Linked DNA regions of Homo sapiens: region 2 is linked to region 1. Evidence: promoter capture Hi-C in human tissues and cell types (Jung and others, 2019). All regions are on one chromosome and are shown on one strand. Each heading gives the region's core, a stretch centred on a gene start or on the middle of the fragment in contact. The rest is flanking DNA. Distances are from core to core; before and after follow the strand shown.

Region 1 (3,608 bases), core at 1-2,500:
TGTAAATTCTTTAGCAGATGATGTGAGCCTCTCTCTACCAAGTGAGGGGCAAACGGGAAGATAAAACCAAGTCCTGTGGGAGGGTTCTTTGGCAACTTACCCAGAGGCAAATGGCTCCCAGGTGTCATCAGCAGCCTTTCTGAACACATGCACGGCCACATTGATGGCAGGACTGCCTCGGACAGCATCTAGAACTTTGACCATCAGAGGACACTTGGATTCACCGGTGCCCTGGGTGTAGAGAAGACACGTGAGAAGTTAACAAAATTGATCAGAGTGAAAGGATTTATTCTTTGTGGTATTAGAAATCTGGAGCGAAACAAGAATTACACACTGATCCCATTATCAGGAACGTAAGTGTCGACAATTAATGAGCTTCCCTACTCAGTATAACACAGACGTAATTGTTTCCAAAGCAAGAATGGTTTCTGCCTCCAGACACACTGCTATCAACCAGGGATGTGTATAATGAATTTTAAGGGAGAAAATAGGTCCCCTGAGAACAGTTGCTTTGTTAAAAGTCTCCATTTGAGTGGAATTACTGAAAAGATGTAATGTACCATACATAGGGCCAAACAGGTTTTCCTGAGATCATTTTAGTTGTTGCTATAGTCACTCCCTCTTACCAGTTGTTATAAAATAATGTCAGAACTACATCCAGACCCATTTTATAGTATTAGTTAATTCTTCTAGAGGATTTAAGAATTAGATATCTGACTAGAATATTGTTCACTAAGCCTTTTAAAGATTAATCAATAAATACGTTTTGAATAACTATAGGGCCAGAATATAATCTCCTGCAGTTTGTCCCCCAAATACATTTTATGGAGGGATACTTTTCTGAAAATTCAGTATTAACAGCTTCCTTAATATCATATCTTTATTTCTATCATCTATCTGAGGAAACAGAGGTACCAGATATTACAAACCTAATGCACCAAAGCAATGAGGTAGAATGCTCAGAGTTCAAGTCCCAGCTCAGTAAGCTCAGTGGAACTTCATTCTTTTTGAAGTTTGAATTAATTATATTAAAAATAGATGCTGGGTACCCTTGCCCTAGTAATAAAAGCTGGTTGGCAAAGCTGGAAGGAGTCACTTCTACTTCATTTAGCGTGAATCTTAAATGTAGGAATGGGATGTCACAGAAACACTCACCGTAGGGCCAGCCTCAGACACAAATACCAGTCCAGCAAGGCAGAGGAGGAGCAGACGATGAGAAGCCATCCTGCCAAGAATGAGTGGACTTCTGTGATGGCTGCTCCCAGCCTGGGGCTTTTATACTCACTTCTCCTGAGCTAGGCTGCTTATCCCTGCCAATCTGACTGCAAACCTGCTGATTCTGATTATTGACTTAGTCAACAAAGAGAGAATAAGTAACCCATACAAATATGAACCTTGTCTAGAGAGATTAGAGCATCGGAACATTCGTTCTATGAAATATTCTTAATAGGTCATTTGACCAGTTAGGTCACCAAAACAAAACAACCAAAACAAAACAAAACAATCAAAACAAAACAAAAATAGTCTTCTCCCTGTGTGACTGCGTGCACTAACATTCTTGGGGGTAATTTTTTCCTCCCTCACATATTTCTATGCATGTTTTCCATTTTTATAGATTTTTTGTCTCTCATTTTAGATGCAAGATTTTAGACAGATGCAAGTTGTAATAATGTATTTCATGTTGAATGACATCTAGCTGCACAGGCTTAAATATAGTGCATTAGAAAATGTTTGCACTTGATGGATCCATGGGTCAACAAGGAAAAACCCTTGGCAGTGCTCACATTTTTAAAAGCCTACATTTTAGCCAAACTAAGTCATTTGGAAGCTTTGCTTAGTCAGCAATTTCTCCACAATGTGTGTGTGCATGTGTGTATGTGTGTGTGTGTTCTGCCCAGATAAAGTCCACTTCAATCTAAGAATGGCATCTTCCCTCCCTCCCTTCCTTCCTTCCTTTTTTCCTTCCTTTTTTTTTTTTTTTTTGACAGGGTCTCACTCCAACGCCCTGGCTCGAGTGCAGTGGCACGATCACAGCTCGCTGCAGCCTTGACCTCCCGGGCTCAGGTCATCCTCCCACCTCAGCCTCTTGCCCAGGCTGGTCTCGAACTCCTGAGCTCAAGCAATCCACCCGCTTTGGCCTTCCAAAGTGCTGGGATTACACGTGTGAGCCACTGAGCTGGGCCAGAATGGCATATTTCAACCTGGCATTGATGCCCCTGAAATACAGAGAACCAAATCTTCTTTACTGACTCTTCTGCATTGGGCATGCAGGAACAAGGCTGACAGCTGGTTTTTGACAGAACCAAACTTGCTGGAAGAAAGTAGAGATGACTGTGAGAACCAGAAGCCATGATTGACAGCAGATTCTTTTCCTCCTGGCCGACTTATTAATACAAGTCCAGAAATTATGATGATTTGATGATTCATTACTCACATACAAAGTCTCTGTGTGTATGTGTGTGTGTGTGTGTGTGCGCGCGCACGCGCATGTGTGTGTGTGTCCACTAGCATGCGTGGCTTTGTTCATGGATAAACTAAGGCAGGTTTTTGTCCTTATAAGACAAACATGTAGAAAACATAGAGAAGACAAATATTTTGGACAAATACAAGCCAAGAGCAAGTCCGGTTTGGAGCACTAAGAATTGAGGGAACATTCCCATAACTGATAGAGTCAGATTAGAAAAAATTCAACAAGAAATTGTGAAGCACAGGAGCTTACAGGGAGTAGTGGAAGGGACAGAAAAGCCTTTCAGGAACATGAGAATGTGCAGGAGAGGACTCCGGGAGGTGGGTTGACCCCTCACAGCAATGAGCAAATGTAGTTGAGACCATAACTAGGAATGGAGTCTTAGACCCTTAGAGTTTAACTAGGAAGCAGCAGCAGAAAGACTTTTGCATTTGGAGTTGGATGACCAGAGTCATTCGATCCCAGTTCTGCTGCCCCGTTTCCCGGATGACCTTCTATGAGTTATCTACTATCTCAGATACTCGGCCAACTCGTTTGTAAAATAGAAATGCCTACTTTTCTACTTCAAAGGACTGTTCTAATAACTTTTAATATGAGAGGATGTACAAGCCTTTTGTAAGCTGTAAACCACTATCTTGCTGTAAAAGCATAACTAATAGAATTTGGTTCAACATCTATGCCTCAGGAGAGAATCCTTTCTCAAATAACATCTTTCATATATTGTCATCCAATATCCTCTTGATGATTTCCTATTGTTCAGAACCTGGATAGAGAGCCTTTTCTCTGGCTATGAATCATAAATATTTGGAAGTTCTTTCATAACCGAAGCAAAATCTACTGTGCACGCGTTTCAGCACTGCACCCTGTTGAAACTAAGAATCATCTCTTGTAGACCCTGTGAACTGGCAACGCTGGGCTGCCATCAGCCCATAGATATGTTATATTTGGGCTGCACAGAGTCTCTTTAAACATTTTGTAATAGTTGCCAAAATTAAAAATTGAGACATGCTGCATAAAAATTTGCATTTCTTGCTTCTCTTAAATCAAAAATATTGGCAGCTTTAGGCCAACATTTACACATGACAGTGATCATCAGAATGTCACTCTCAGACATCAAGACTCCCCAGGCCTCCCCGCCAAC
Region 2 (3,339 bases), core at 365-2,864, 510 kb before region 1:
AGATTACTGGAAAAACTTCAAATAATAATTTTTCAGCCGGGCGCGGTGGCTCACGCCTGTAATACCAGCACTTTGGGAGGCCGAGGCAGGCGGATCACGAGGTCAGGAAATCAAGATCATCCTGGCTCTAACACGGTGAAACCCTGTCTCTACTAAAAATACAAAAAATTAGCTAGGCATGGTGACGGGCGCCTGTAGTCCCAGCTACTCAAGAGGCTGAGGCAGGAGGATGGCGTGAACCTGGGAGGCGGAGCTTGCCATGAACCGAGATCGCACAACTGCACTCAAGCCTGTGTGACAGAGCGAGACTCCATCTCAATAAACAAATAAATAAATAAATAAATAAATAAAATAAAATAAAAAATAATTTTTCAACTTCTAGTATCTTCCAGAGAGGAAGTAAAAATAGATCACCTACTAAGGAAAGAGAATCAGATTAGCATCAAACTCATGAGCAATAACAAATGACAAATAGAATGATGTGTTCAAAGTTCTGAGGAGAAATGATTTATAACCTAGAACTGCATCTTCTGGATATTAAATCATTTTGTATCACTTAAGGCATTTCTGATATAATGTAACATATGAAACACTGAAAACCTTGGCATTCTGCATACCCGCACACTAAAACTTATAGGGCTTATGGAAAAAAATGGTTGGAATAGACCACTCGTGCAACCTTGTCGCCAGACTACTAACAAAACCCAAACAATCCAAATAAAAATACGAACAATTCTGAAAAGGTATGTAAAGTTCCTAATAAACACTTCACCCTAAAATTTTTTTAAAAGAAGAGAGGGATAAGTGGTTGAAGCTGTTAAATTATGGAAATAAATTTAAAATGCACAAGGGAAAGGAGAAACATGCAATAGGTATTCCAAGAGAGAACTCATAGCCAAACTGAACTAAGAAGAATGAATGTTGGGCACCTTGTGTCATAGTGCTTAATTCTATGGTTTGTTATATTCAGCTATGTTTTGATGTGCTTTGCTTCAGCTACCATTTGTTGATGGACCAAAACAATTTTCAGGGGGAAAAAAGTCACATAGAAAGCTATCTGTTCTGATATAATCTGTTGCAGCAAGTAGAACAGACGACATTCAGTCCATCATTTGTCTTTAACCTTGCTGCTTGTGGTCTTCCGATATGGAAATTTTTTAACTTTTAGACATGGCCTTTTCCTAAAATTATGGTTTATGCTTTTGCAGTCTTAAGAATTCCCCACTTCAGGATCAGAGATATTCCCCCACATTTCCTTCTAAAGTTTAAGCTTTGCTCATTAAAGTTTTCAATCCATCTGGAAATATTATCATGTATAGCACACAGCAGAGATTCTACATATAAAGCTATTGCCCAAATACTATCTTACTGATCAAAGCCACCTTTTCCTCATTCATTTGCAATGTCACGTCTATCAAAGATAAAAAGTTCCAAAACGTGTGGAACTATTTCTGGACTCTGTAGTATATTCTAGTCATTTATCTACTGCTGAATGAACACCATACGATTTGGCCAGTGCGGTGGCTCATGCCTGTAATCCCAGCACTTTGGGAGGCCGAGGTGGGTGGATCAATTGAGGTCAGGAGTTCAAGACCAGCCTGGCCAACATGGTGAAACCTGTCTCTACTAAAAATACAAAAATTAGCCATGTATGGTGGCAGGTGCATGTAATCCCAGCTACTCAGGAGGCTGAGGCAGGAGAATCACTTAAACTCAGGAGGCAGAAGTTGCAGTGAGCCAAGATGGTGCCACTGCACTCCAGCCTGGGGGACAGAGGGAGACTCCATCTCAAAAAGAGAAAAAAGCATATGATTTTTTAATTTTCATTTTGTATTTTTATATTTTTAATTTAATAATACTTTCACAGGAAAATCAAAGAAGCCAACCATACTAATTACTATTGTTTCATAATATCTCATTATATCTGATAGGGTTGTGCTATCTGCATGTTCTTCTTTTTCAAATATTTTCTTAGTTATTCATAATCATTAGCTCTTTATTAGAATTTTTTAATCCATTTTTCAAGTTCTACCAAAAAATCATGTTGGGACTTCACCAGAACTGTATGTTTAGAACTGTGTGGAGAAAATTGATACCTTAAATTTATTAAATCTTTCTAACCATAAATGTCATGTTCTCTTACACTTTTCAATAAAGTTTTGTAATTTTCTTTAAGAAGCTGTGTATATTTTTATTGTTTAGTCCAAATAACATTATAATTTTGTTGCTATTGTAAGTGACGTTTTTCTTCTATTAATTTTTTATCTGATTACTGCTGGTATAAAGATATGTTGTTGATTTTTGTCTGTTCTTGCATCAAACCTCCCTGTACTCTTATTGTTTCTCTTGTTTTTAATCGACAAATTATGACAATTTTATCTCTTCCTTTTCCATCTCTGTGTATCTGATTTCTTCTTCTCTCACTGAATTGTCTAAAACCTGAAATACAATGTTAAATGTCAGGGGTGATGCAGACTTCTTTGACTAGTTCCTAACTAGAAAAGCACCTAAAGCTTACAACTAGGTATATTTGCTATAGATTTTAGGGAAGCCACCCTTAATGAGGATTTTTTTTTTTAAACTTTTAGGCCAGGTCTGGTGGCTTATGCATGTAATCTCAGCCCTTTGGGACGCCGAAGTGGGGGGATCATTTGACCTCAGGAGTTCGAGACCAACCTGGCCAACATGGTGAAACCCTGTCTCTACTAAAATACAAAAATTCGCCAGGCATGGTGGCATATACCTGTAATCCCAACTATTTGGGAGGCTAAGTCACTAGAATTGCTTGAACCCAGAAGGCAGAGGTTGCAGTGAGCCAAGATCAGGCCACTGCACTCTGGCATGGGCGACAGAACTAGACTCTGCCTCCAAAAAAAAAAAAAAAAAGTTTTTTAGCCTATTCCTAATTTGCTATGAAGTTTTCTTTTTTTTTTCTGAGACGGAGTCTTGCTCTGTCGCCCAGGCTGGAGTGCAGTGGCGCAATCTCAGCTCACTGCAAGCTCTGCCTCCAGGGTTCACACCATCTCCTGCCTCAGCCTCCCGAGTAGCTGGGACTACAGGTGCCCGCCACCGCGCCCGGCTAATTTTTTTTTGTATTTTTAGTAGAGATGGGGTTTCACCATGTTAGCCAGGATGATCTCGATCTCCTGACCTCGTGATCCACCCGCCTCGGCCTCCCAAAGTGCTGGGATTACAGGCGTGAGCCACCACACCCGGCCCATGAAGTTTTCAAAAGCTCAACATGTACTCTTGTCTAAAAAAATTTTTTTAATGATAAAAAGGGATAATAAAAATATTTTGTGGAAAATTGCTGTTTATTGATTGTGTTCTTTGAAGGAC

Evidence for each region. The method cuts DNA at HindIII sites, captures the fragments that hold promoters and counts their contacts. A contact is called where the count stands out against the background at its distance.
Region 2: a fragment that was not itself captured here is called in contact with the fragment with the promoter of TTR in region 1 in 1 of the 25 tissues and cell types used here (lymphoblastoid cells).

What each region holds. Positions count from the first base shown.
Region 1 is chr18:31,589,519-31,593,126 of GRCh38, reverse strand. It overlaps TTR (transthyretin), which reads right to left and starts at 1,250. Exons shown (of 4, transcript NM_000371.4): 1 at 1,156-1,250; 2 at 101-231. The coding sequence starts at 1,224. The HindIII fragment of the contact is 7,126 bases long and covers 1-3,311 here.
Region 2 is chr18:32,103,561-32,106,899 of GRCh38, reverse strand. All of the region lies in intron 2 of RNF138 (ring finger protein 138), which reads right to left. Among named protein-coding and RNA genes, the nearest start is that of RNF138, 13 kb to the right of the region's middle. RefSeq lists an enhancer at 89-188. The HindIII fragment of the contact is 6,388 bases long and covers 1-3,339 here.